Regions from separate parts of the Homo sapiens genome. Here region 1 is linked to region 2. The links are contacts of gene promoters, found by promoter capture Hi-C in human tissues and cell types (Jung and others, 2019). All regions are on one chromosome and are shown on one strand. The core of a region is centred on a gene start or on the middle of the fragment in contact, and the rest is flanking DNA. Distances in the headings are between cores, read along the strand shown. Region 1 overlaps R3HCC1L (R3H domain and coiled-coil containing 1 like). Region 2 holds the start of HPS1 (HPS1 biogenesis of lysosomal organelles complex 3 subunit 1).

The links. Contacts are between HindIII fragments. The study calls those that stand out against the background at their distance.
Region 1: a fragment that was not itself captured here is called in contact with the fragment with the promoter of HPS1 in region 2 in 1 of the 25 tissues and cell types used here (aorta).

The regions. Positions count from the first base shown.
Region 1 is chr10:98,184,073-98,190,246 of GRCh38, forward strand. All of the region lies in intron 4 of R3HCC1L (R3H domain and coiled-coil containing 1 like), which reads left to right. Among named protein-coding and RNA genes, the nearest start is that of R3HCC1L, 53 kb to the left of the region's middle. The HindIII fragment of the contact is 3,649 bases long and covers 1,170-4,818 here.
Region 2 is chr10:98,443,776-98,450,541 of GRCh38, forward strand. HPS1 (HPS1 biogenesis of lysosomal organelles complex 3 subunit 1) reads right to left here and starts at 3,160. Exons shown (of 20, transcript NM_000195.5): 1 at 3,032-3,160; 2 at 1,525-1,629. HPS1-AS1 (HPS1 antisense RNA 1) reads left to right here and starts at 2,546. Exons shown (of 3, transcript NR_134454.1): 1 at 2,546-2,982. RefSeq lists a silencer at 2,978-3,327. The HindIII fragment of the contact is 14,922 bases long and covers 1-6,766 here.

The sequences.
Region 1 (6,174 bases), core at 1,744-4,243, 260 kb before region 2:
GTGGTGGGGAGGAATGTTGAGGGTTTTGTTATTGCTAGGTTACCTTTAATTTACCACAGGCTTAAAGTTTCTCTAGCATTACTTTGTGTTTAGGGTAGGATTTAGTTTGTCAGAGAGTTTTTCTTAATGTCTACCCTCAGCTTTAGGTCTTCCCTTTGAACTTGCATCTCAGAGAAGGTATTTCTCCATGCTTTAGCTCTTTGCTCACAAACAGTCATGCGCCACATAACAATGTTTTGGTCAACAGCAGACTGCATATATGATGATGGTCCCCTAAGATTATAATACCATATTTTAACTGTACCTTTCTATGTTTAGATAAACAAAATACTTACCATTGTGTTACAGTTGCCTACAGTATTCAGTACAGTAACATGCTGTACAGGTTTGTAGCCTAAGACCAATAATATACCATACTGTATAGCCTAGGTGTGTAACAGGCTATACTGTCTTTGTCTGTGTAAGTATACTCTGTCATGTTCTCACAATGAAATCACCTGACAATGCATTTCTTAGACCATATTCCTGTCATTACGTGACACATGACTGTAGTACATTGCTGTTACATGTTGTTTGAGGCTTGCTAGCCTGCATTTGATGGGAGATGGGGAGGACATTTTGTGTTGGATTTTTCCAGTCTCCATTTTAGCTAGGTGTTTCCATTTTCTCTGGGTCTCAAGTATGGGGCTTTTTCAGAGATCTTGCCCCTTCTTTAAGCAGGGTAGATTTTGTTTGCTTCCCCTAGCTGCAGGTCCACATTTGGCTTGTAGTAATTACAAAATTTTTTAACCAAGTTCTTATTGGCTTGTATGGTGTCTGGTGTTTACTATAGGTAAAGTAGTGCTCATGTCCCATCTCTCCCTTTAAAATCCTGTCTTTCCTTAGATTTTAGATCAATTACTTAGATTTAAGGTTACCTTACTTTTGTGCTGGGTTCAAGAAAATTTGTGATTTTGCACAACATCCATCTTTTACTTTGTTTTAATGGTGAAAATGACTTTCTAACTTTCTTCATCCTAAGCAGCACCTAGAAGTCCCATTTCTTTATTGAGGATGTCTATTGATACGGGATTTTTGATGGTTAAAGTATCTTTTAAATCTGTTCCTTTCAGTTTTTTCCTCCAAATTTGTATTTTTGTTTGTTCATTTATTCAATATAAAAAAGTCAAGTCTGTGCTATGTGTCTAGGCCCTGTGCTCAGTGTTGGGGGATATAGGGATGAGCAAGTACCCTTAATAATACTTTCTCTAATGAGCATATAGTTTAATGGGGAAGACCGGATAATTAAAGAGGTAATTATACTAAAGTAATGATAAGAGCTGTAGTAGGAGATGTATATGGAAGGAGGCACCCAGTCTTATCTAGAATGATTAGGTAAGGCTTCTCAGAGAAAGAACTGTGATGCAGACCTAAAGATTATGTAGGAATTAGGTTAAAGATGGCTGGGAGGCTGTAGGGAAGTAGAGTAGGTAGAAGGAAGAGATTATCCAGTAGCTAAGATGGAAAACAAACAAACCCACAGAACCAACATGAAGAGTTTGAGAATCTGAAAGAAGAGCCATGTGGCTATAAAGCATATGAAGACAGAAGTGACAGAAGGTAAGACTGGAGAAATTGGTTGGAGCCAGGTTAGAAAGAAGAGTCTTCTAAGCCATGTTAAGTTGATTTTATCATGAAAACAGTGGCAAGTCATTGAAAGACTTTAGGGAGGGTGACATCTGACTAGCTAATGGTTTTGAAAAAGTCATTTTGGATGGAAGGTGAAGAGTGAATGCAAAGAAGCAAAGCAGTTACCAAGACTAGTTAGATAGGTTACCTCAGTAATCCAGGCATTTGTATGTGTTGTTTTAACTTGGAGTAGTAGCATTAGAGATAGGGACAACCAGGCAAATTAAAGAGATACTCAAATGTGAAGATCAGTGGAACTTTTCCATTGGTTGAATACAGAGAGTGAGGAAGAGGGAAGACTTGGGATGTATCCAGTAAAAATCTTGGTATGTTTCTGTAGAACCTCCAAGTTTCCTTCCTTCTTTCCAGAGGGAGAGTAGAAGAAAGGACCCTTGGTTTACTTTCATAATTATCGTTTATGTATGGCCCAAAATTCATTGAGGCCGTGGAGGTAAGTCAGAAAAAGAGAAAAGGAAAAAATATCTAAGTAATATGTAAGTCATGGTAAATGAACTTCTCTTGCCTGATTGTCTTTGAGTGTTGAGAAAAACAGGACAGTTTGGTTCCTTCGGTTTTGATGTTTGGCTTATTGGTATATAAACAAAAAATCTGCAAACCTTGCTCTTTTGGAACAAAAATAGCATACAATTGATCTTCTCAAATAGCTGTTCCATGTAGAGAGACATTTAACTATATTTAATCATATAATTTCCTTGTTTTTTCCAGATGGTTTTACTCAGCATTTGGTGTGGTGGATCTTACATAAACCTTTAGAACTTACATTAGAGTGTTCAAGTCTTCTGAGACTCCAGAGTCACCTAAGGTAGTGACCATTGCCACTAACAGTTGTGACAAGTTTTATACACAACATTGCTGTGGGTGCCAATAATGTTTTTCATGGCAGTGGAGGGGCAAAGTATAGTTTTCAGAAAAAGGATGTTAGTGATAAACAGCTCTCATATGATTCAAGATTTCAGTGCTTAAGGTGGGAAAGTAGGCGTGAAGCTTATGAAGGCCATCAGTTTTCCTTCTCAGAATGATGTAGTTAAAAGCAAGTATGGTGTATTATTACAATGTTAGAGTTAGGCAGTCATGATTTAGAAATTTTTTGCTTTTTTGGGGGTGTACTGTGGGATAGAGTTGTGAGTAGCTAAATAGCTCAGGTATTAGTCAAAGCTGGGTGTGCATTCTGGTTTCTGTACTTAGTAAGTACAGATGTACAACCTTGAGTCTTCATTTATTTGTCTGTAAAATGGTGATAATAATTATATACACCTTGAAGAGTTGTTACAAAGGTTAAGTGAGATGATGTATACAAGCACTTAACCCAGTGCTTCATTCATTGACTTATTTGGTAGGGTACAAGTTTAAATTATATTGCCATGTACAGTTTGTTAAATCCAACATACTACAGATTGAGTAGCCCTTATCTGGACTGCTTGGGACCAGAAGTGTTTTTGATTTTGATTTTTTTTTTTGAATATTTGCATTATATTTAACAGTTGAGAATCCCTAACCTGAAAATCTGAAATCTGAAATGCTCCAGTGTTCATTTCCTTTGAGTGTCATGTCGGTGCTCAGAATGTTTTGGACTTTGGAGCATTTTGGATTGCAGATTTTCACATTAGGGCATATCAGCCATGTAAGGTTTTTATAATCTAAGAAACAGTCATAATCATAGGTCTCTTAATCATTTCTCATAATTGGATTATGTTTACATATTTCCCATCTGTAAAAAGGGCTAGTAATGTAAAAATACAGAGTATCAATTCTTTGATGGTGGCAGGAAATTATGGTTTACAAGAATGAAGTAGGTTTTTTGGATGGGGAGCTTAAGTCTGGCTCCGGTTTAATTTTGCTGTTATCATTAGTTTGCACATAAGGTCTCTTTCTATAAATAGATATGTATCATATATACAAATTGAGAAAGGTTTGCTTTAGTAGGAAAATAGCTAGTGAGTTGAGTCAAACAGATAAGATGTAACAATTCTTTTTTTTTTTTTTTTTTTTTTAAGAGATAAGGTCTTGTTCTGTTCTCCAGGATGGAGTGCATTGGTCTGGTCTTAGTTCACTGTAACCTCAAACTCCTGGGCTTAGGTGATCCTCCTACCTCAGCCTCCTAAGTAGGTAGGGCTACAGATGTGCACCACCATGCCCAGCTAATTAAAAAACAATTTTTTTTTGTACATATAGAGTCTCGCTATGTTGCCTAGGCTGGTCTCGAACTCCTGGACTTAAGTGATCCTCCCATCTTGGCCTCCCAGAAGTCCTGGGGTTATAGGCAGGACCCATTATACTTGGCCAAAGGAATTCTTAATGTTGTTCAAGAATACACATACCTTTTACACACACACACACACAATCTCAAATTAAGGAGAAACATCTGAATTGATACTGCTTTGTGCCAGGCACATTTGCTTTTGTGCTCATTTATTTAACAAACATCTTATTGAATGCTGTATGTGCCAGGAATGGTGCTGGGTATTGAGAAACTAAAAATGATAAGGTATTTCTTGCTTTCAAGGAGTTGTAGGTATGATTGTTAGTCAGACAAGCTTACAGTTTGGTATGGCAGTAGAGAGCGCAGAATACCCAGCCCGCATTTACTCAAGGAATATTTATTGAAAGCTAAAATATACAAGTATTCAGTAGGCATTCAGAGATCATTTAGAACTACATCTCAAAAGGAACAGCCCTAAGTCATCCTTGACAAGTAAGTCTTCAAATGGCAATGGAGACTCCTGTGTTTGGATCCATTATAGGATAGGCTCAGTGTAATGCTAAATAAGGCTAGACTGTAGAAAACTTCCTTATCAGCTTTGTTGAACTGGTGTTCCTTTGGCTTTTCATTTCTGTGCCTCAGTTATGTCTTTCAGAGTAGCTTTTGGAGAGGTTAAAGAAGGCAATTGGGGCTTCTCATCTCCTAACATTAAGTAATTGATATAGTTATTTATGTATTTTTTCCTATAAGATTGTTAAAGATATTTAAGTGGGGAGTACTAACCACACTGATATAGTCATATTGCCATAGGCATTTATGAGCACAGACATTGGTCTCAGAGTATCTAGATTAGGATCTAGATAATCCTCTGCCATATTCTAGTCCTTTGGCCTTGGTGGACACAATTTAACACCCTTGTTGCCTCGGTTTTATCATTGGTAGAATTGGACTAGTAATAATTCTACTTCATAGGGTTGTTGGGAGAATCAAATGAAATGTTACTATTTTGAACATAAAATAGTCAAGTGAGTTGTCAGGTGAGCAAATAAGATCTGATAAGTGGCCAAAATAAATATAAAGTTCATGTATTGAAGTTCATATATTTTGCTCAATTAGGAAGCACCTCAGATCCTTACTTAGAGGGCTTTTATTGTTACTTTGTATGTAATTTGGACACTCTGGAATTTGCATTGCCCTTTAGGTTGAGAGAAATAGAAATGCCTAGAGTAGCAATAAGTGACAGATGGTGAAGAGAAAGAAACAATAAAAATCAGGTACTCTACTAAAACAAAAAATAGTGATCTGGAGGTTGTAGTACAGCTGTGCATTGCATATGGGGTGAGGACAGCATTTCACAATGAAGAAGGCCTTGAGGCATCACCTTATACATGGCGCAGTTTGGCAGTTTGAACAGAACTGTTTGACTTCTCATTCTGCTTTTTACTAGTGATTCTGTTTCTTGCATGCCTTTTAGTAAGGTCTATCTATGTAAGGTCTCTCAGTGAGTGTCTACCTGGGTTAAAAGCTTATTTCTCTTTAGTTCAGATATGTTAAAGAGAAGACCTATAGAGTAATTTCTTTCACTATAGACTTTAATTTTAGAAATTATTGTCTTATTCTTTTAAATTGTAATATATATTTTGTATAACCTGGTTTGAATAGAAGTAAAAATGAATCTCCAAGCAGATACAGGAATTATTTTGTGTTTTCAAGTGTGAAATATATCATTGTATTATAATAACTAGTGCAAGTGCATTTACGGAAGGATGCATTAAGAAAACTACAGCAGAATCAGTTGTGGTTCATTAGCAGATTTTATAGTTTTTAAAATATGAAGCCATTTCTCTGCTGTCCAAGTATAATTTTTTATGTTATTATATCACACACAAGTGCCTCTGTGCTGTGTTTGTGTTGAATCTCTTTTAAGTGAAGCGCCTGTGCAGGAGAAGGACATTTCTTGATTTCTTATTTGCAAATGCAGTTGACCCTTAGTATCCCTGGAGAATTGGTTCCAAGACTTTCCTTGGATACCACAATTTGAGGATGTTCAAGTCTCTGATATAAAACGGCAGTATTTGTATATAACCTATGTACATCCTCCTTTTTACTTTATATCATCTCTAGATTACTTATACCTAATACAATATAAATGCTAGGTAAATATTTGTTAGACTTCATTGTTAGGGAATAATAACGAGGAAAATCTGTGCATGTTCAGTACAGACACAATTTTTTTAACTGAATATTTCCATCTCTGGGTTGGTTGAATCCATAGACCCATGGAT
Region 2 (6,766 bases), core at 1,910-4,409:
TAATCCCAGCACTTTGGGAGGCCAAGGGGGGTGGATCACCTGAAGTCAGGAGTTCGAGACCAGCCTGGCCAACATGGTGAAACCCCGTCTCTACTAAAAATACAAAAATTAGCCAGGCATGGTGGCAAGTGCCTGTTATCCCAGCTACTCGGGATAACTGCTGAGGCAGGAGAATTGCTTGAACCCGGGAGGCAGAGGTTGCAGTGAGCCGAGATTACACCACTGCACTCCAGCCTGGGTGACAGAGCGAGACTCTGTCTGAAAAAACAAACAAACAAACAAACAAACAAACAAAAAACAGCTCCAGAAGATGAGCCTCAAAGCCCCTGAATTTACTTCAGCACCACAGAAGTTTCATTCAAATGCTGCTCTCCCTGTTCATGGTGAGAACAGAGGCTGCCTAAAGCCCCTGTACCTAGTAGGCTGCAGCTTCTAGGGCCACAGCCACCAGTGTCTTCAGCCCTCCCAAATCTCCTTCCCCACCCCCCCGCCACACACACACACACCACACACTCTGTGCTTGATTATGTAAGAAATGTCTTAACTATTCACCCACTGGAAGATCTTTAATACAGCTTCCCACACTGTGTGCCATGGCCCTCTGCGTGCGGCAAACCCTCGATCTTCTAAAACTTGGGGCAGCCTGACCAGGCTGGTGAGGACAGTGCTCCAGGCTGGCTGCTGCAGCTAAGAGGCCTCAGGCAGTGGTTTCAAATCCTCTTATGTGCCTCAGGGTGTCACGCAGATATAATCATGTGGTATGTGCGCTAAGCCATGACAATGATTAGGAAGCTCTGCTGTAACTCTCACACAAGTGGATTTCCAGTTTTCTTGGGAGGATCACAGCATCTCCAGGTCTTGTGTTCCGTCATCCCCATGTCCAGCTTAGTGGTCCTTACTGAATTCCTCCCAAACTAACTTGGTGCAACTGGTCCCAAGGTATTTATGGCAAATGCCAGGAGACATAACAGCACAGTGAAGAAGGAATGCAGCCTATTCCCACAGAATTACTCAATGCCAAGGCAGACACTGAGAGTGCAACAGGTGTGAAAAGGAGGTTGCTGGGAGAGGCGGGTGGACCTGAAGAGGCTGCTCTGGGACTCCCAGGTACATGTGACAAAGCTGACCAGAGTGTATGGGTTAGGGAGCAGTGGGCTATGGAATGGAGGCTGTGGTTGTGAGCGGAGAAGTGACCGGCTGGCTGGAGATGGGCAGGTCAAGGTCATGAAGGCGGTCATCTAGGTGCGGGTGTCAGGTAATGAGTGCTCACCCCTTGGTGGGGGCTGGGAGGAGCTTTAAAGATGCAGCAGGCTGTGATGACCTGCCTGGATTCGAGGGGTGAAGGAGAGATGAGGCATCAGGATGGGGGTGGCCTCAGGATGCAGGGCTGGGGAGGGGATGAGCAGGTGTGCAGAGCCCAGTAGCACTCAGTCCACTGCCTACCTCATTCCATCTGCCTCCCAAAGCCCCAGGGTGGATGCTGCCTGCCTCCCTGTCCTCCCCAGGTGGGGCAAGATCATCTACCTTGGCAAGCACAGTGGAGCATCCAGACGGCCAGAGGTTCAGAAAGGGCTGCAGCAGACCGACTCGGTGACTGGCTCATGGGAGAGCAGCACAGCATCCCTGGTCCTGCAAATGCTTAAAACAGAGAGAATATGAGGGCAGGCAGATGCCCTGGTCTTGACTGCTGCCCGTTGAGAAAGGACAAGCTGGAGAAGGGCTGCGTGGTCCCTGGTCTCTCCAGGCCCTGAGGCAGTCTGCTAAGAACATATCTGGGATCCTGCCCCTCACCTCCCATAATGGAGAATAGGAACCCGGCCAGCACAGCCCTTTGCACAGAGCAGGTGCCCACTTTTGTTCCTTCCTCCTTTGTTCCCATGAAGTGCTCTCACTTCTGCGGGTCACTCAGAGCTCCCCAAGCAGCCCCAGGGAGCTTGCTAGGAGTGACTGACGGGAGACAGCATAGCACATCCCAGGTGGTGAGGATGCAGTCCCGGTGAAGGGAGTGGGGATCCTGGGATGATACGATGAATGGAAGGAAACTAACAGGAAAGGCATCTGGGACCAGGTTCTAGTTTTGGCTTTGCCAAGTCCCATAAACCTCTCTGAGCCTCAAACTCCTGCGGAGAAACAGAGCAACATCCCCTACTCTACCTCCCTACAGGGTTAGATCATGGGAGTGACCAGGCAAGCTGCAAAGTAACCTTAGCAAACTGCGTTCTTACATAGGTGTGGGGATCATTATTCCTATTTCCCAGCTTCCCTTCTTCAAATAACAGGATTAATCAATCTGGTTCCGGAATCATTCATATTTGAATAGAGGGCAGGAACAACAGAAAACTTAATTAGGAAGTCAAGCACTGTGAGCCAGTAAGAGGCAAGTGACTACCCGCCACAGAGACTGCTGTTACGAGTTCGGCCTTTAGCAGCCGAACCCTGAGACGGGCTCCATCACCCACATGATTGGCCCGAATGCCATATTCCCGAAACAGGGGGATGCTTCCCAAAGGCTGCTGGGAAGAGAACCTCGCCGGTGTCACACTGAGACTTCCGCTTCACCTCGCTATCTTGCCCTAGAAAGGGAACTCGGAGGGGACTCACTGACGAAAGGAGCTCCAGATGGCGGGGGGCCAACCTGGGGCGACCCCCAGCGCCCACTTTCACCATCTGGACCCCAGCAAACCTCCCTGTGGCCCTTGGTCCCGTCTTCAGCAGCTCCTTCTGGGGTCCCACACCTTCGGAGCCCGGCCCTGCCCCTGAGTCTCTGGAGAGAGCGAGTCAGCAGTTCGCCGCCGCGGGGCTCCCGTTTGCCTAGCACGCCAGTTTCTGTCCAGTTTCACCCCAAATCCCCACCTCCCCCCACCCCCGAACCTCACGGCCACCCTGGGAAGGAGGCTTGACTTGTGACATCCACCCCTCTTCACGGCTGAGGAACTTTGGCCCCGAGCGAGGAAGCGACCGGCCCACGGCCACACGCCCGGAGTGGGTGAGGCTAGGAGTGGGCCCGCTCCGGGACCCCTAGGGACCCTACCTCACTTCCGGGAGGGTTGAAGGGGGGCTCCGGAGGGAGGATCGCCGCCCCCAGAGGGGACAGCCCGGAGGCCCACGTACCGGATCGCGGCGCGCACAGCGCCCCGCCTGCAGGAGCCCGGGCGCGCTTCCGGGTAGGACCGCGTGATCGCGCACGTGACCGCCCGCCCCGGGAGGGGCCGGAGCCGCCGTCGCCTTCCGCGGGTTCGAGCCCCGCCCCTGCCAGGCCTTGCCCATGCCCCATTTTACAGAAGAGGAAACGGAGGCGCAGAGAGAAGAAATAACTTGCTGAGGGTCCGAACCAGGCTCAGAACCCAGGTTTCCTGGCTCCTCAGCTGATCCCTTCTCTCCTCCCCATGCCCCGGAACCTCAGGCTTTGCCTAATGAACTGAAGTTCTGGGGCTAGAGCTGTCCTTTTGTGACTGCTCTCCCTGACCTTTGGGGAGGTGACATAGCGCACAGAAGGGCTCAGTTGCCCCCAGAGTGCCAACGCTGGAATTTATAGGAGTTCTCAATCTATTTTGGGAGTGGAGTGCACATTAGGAGTTTTGTGTTGAACCTATGTTTGCAATATTTATTTTAAAAAATCGTATGTGTATTGGGGGTGCCTGGAAGTGGAGGGGGCGCTCTGGAAGGGCCTAAATCCCCGAACAGTCCACCCCTCAGTGCCTGGGTGCCACCTGGGAGCTTTGAGCCCAGCCCAGCAAGGTATGGGTTGCAAGAACTGGCTGGGGATATAGTAGATTGAGCATCTCTTGGGGGAAAGGCAGAGGCTAAGAATCAATACTTCCACCACCTGCAGATCAAAGAGAGCATCACTCCCCCCAACCCACTACCCACCCCTTCCAGCCCACCTTAGGGCAAATTCTTCCAACTCCCCATCTACAGCACATAGCCCTGCCACACGCATCTCTTTGCTCAGCCCACCGTTGAGATCGTTCACTCACTATGCTTTCAGTGGTCGAATGAATTCCATCAAATGGATATGCTGTTATTTACTTATTCATTCCCCTACTGGTAATTTCCATTTCCCAACTGCAATGTATGAGGATTCTGATTTCTCCACATCCTCACCAATGCTTGTTATTGTTGATTTTTTTTTTTTTAAGTATAGTAACCCAGCGTGGAGTGGTGTCTTGTGATTTTATTTGCACTTCCCTGACGTTCGGCATCTTTTCATGTGCTTTTTGCCTATTTGTGTACCTTCTCTGGAGAAATGTCTATTCAAATCCTTTATCCATTTTTAAATTGTCTTTATTATTGAGTTGTAAGAGTTCTTTATATGCTCTGGTTACAAGCCCCTTATCAGATACTTGATTTGCAAAAGTTTTTTTCCCATTATGTGGCTTGTCTTTTCACTTTCTTAGTGGTATCATTTGTAGCACCAAAGTTTTACATTTTTATGTAATCCAATATAATCTATTTTTTAGTTATGTACGGGTTTTTTGTGTCAACATGTTTCTTTTTTTCAAATTTGTTTGTGGTAAAATACATATAATGTAAAATTGATCATTAAGCATTTTAAGTGTATTGTTCAGTGGTATTAACTACATTCCTAATGCTATGCAGCCATCACCACCATCCATCTCCACAGCTCTTTTCATCTTTTAAAACTGAAACTATATCCATTAAGCAATAATGCTGGCCGGGTGTGGTGGCTCACACCTGTAATCCCAACACTTTGGGAGGTCAAGGCGGGCGGATCACAAAGTCAGGAGTTTGAGGTCACCCTAGCCAACATGGTGAAACCCTGTCTCTACTAAAAATACAAAATTAGCAGGGTGTGGTGGCACACAGCTGTAGTCCCAGTGACTCAGGAGGCTGAGTCAGGAGAATTGCTGGTACCAAGGAGGCAGAGGTTGCAGTGAGCCAAGATCATGCCACTGCACTCCAGCCTGGGCAACGGAGCGAGACTCCCATCTCAAAAACAACAACAAAAACAACAACAACAACAATTCTTCATTCCTCCTCATAGCAACCACAATGTTACTTTCTGTCTCTATGAATTTGACTACTCTAAGTACCTCATATAAGTAGAATCATACAGTATTTGTCTTTTTATGACTGGCTTATTTCACTTAGCATAATATTCTCAAGGTGCATTCATGTTGTAGCATATGTGAGAATTCCTTCCTTTTTTCTTTATTTTTAAGCCTAAATAATACTCTATAGTCTGTATATACTACATTTTGCTTATCCATTTATCTGCTGATGGACAATTGGGTTACATCCATTGTGAATAAGGCCATTATGAACATGAGTGTACAAATATCTCTTTGAGACTCTGCTTTCAATTCTTTTGGGCATATACCCAGAAGAGAAACTGCTAGATCATATGGTAATTCTATTTTTAATTTTTTAAGGAACTACCATACTGTTTTCCACAGCAGCTGCATCATTTTACATTCCCAACCTGGAACAAGTGTTCCAGTTTACCCACATCTTTGTCAACACTTGCTATTTTCTATTTTCTTTAAAATTTTTATAGTAGCCATCCTAATGGGTGTGAGGTAGTTCAACATAAGTTTATATTTCTCTTAGGTAAATATCTACTCATGGGATTGCTGGGCTGTATGGTAAGTCTGTGTTTAAATTTATATTAAACTGCTGAACCATTTTCCAAAGTGGATGTACCATTTTACATTCCTTCTAGCAACACTGAGAGGTGTAATTGCTCTGTAGTCTTGTTAGCACTTGATATTGTCCTATTTTAACTTTAGCCATTCTAGTAGGTATGTGGTAGTATGTTAAGTGTTCAAATTTTGCCTATTTAAAAATTGGATTGTTTGTCTTATTATTTATTTATGTGTTTGAATTCAAGCCCTTTATTATATTTTTTTTTCCCAGTCTGTGGCTTTGTCTTTTCATTTTCTTTACAGTGACTTTTGAAGAGCAGAAATCTTTGTGCATTTTGTGTCCTATGTAAAGTCTCTGCTTAGCCAGGGTCACAGAGATTTTCTCCTGTTTTTTCTTTTTTGCAGAAATTTAATAGTCGTAGATTTTGTCTTTAGGTTCACAATCCATTTTGAGTTAATTTTTGTGTGTGATGTGAAAGAAGGTTGAGGTTTTAGTCTTTTGTGTGTGTGTGTGTGTGTGTGTGTGTGTGTGTTTTGTATATAGATGTCCAATTTTTCTAGAACCATTTGTTGAAAAAAAATATTTTCTCAGCCAGGCGTGGTGGCTCATGCCTGTAATCCCAGCACTTTGGGAGGCTCAGGAGGGCAGATCATCTGAGGTCAGGAATTGGAGACTAGCCTGGCCAACATGGTGAAACCCCATTTCTAGTAAAAATACAAAAAAATAAATTAGCTGGGCGTGGTGGCATGCACCTGTAATCCCAGCTACTCAGGAGGCTGAGGCAGGAGAATCGCTTGAACCCAGGAGGCAGAGGTTGCAGTGAGCCAAGATCGTGCCATTGCACTCCGGCTTGGGCAACAGGAGTGAAACTCCATCTCAAATAAATAAATCAATCAATCTTTTCTCCATTGGATTAATTATCATGGCACGTTGTCTCAAATCAGTTGACCATCTGTGTGTGAATCTATTTTTGGAGTCTATGTTCAATAAATTTAAAAGGAGTTTATTGATTTTCTTAGAGGCAGTTTTTGGTTGAATCAATTTTTATTGATCCTGTTTTTAAATTCATCAGTTTCTGTTCTGATAGTTACTATTTCGTGTCTTCTGTTTACTTTGGGTTTTTTTTTCTTCTAGAAACAGAGGCCACTGATTTGAGACC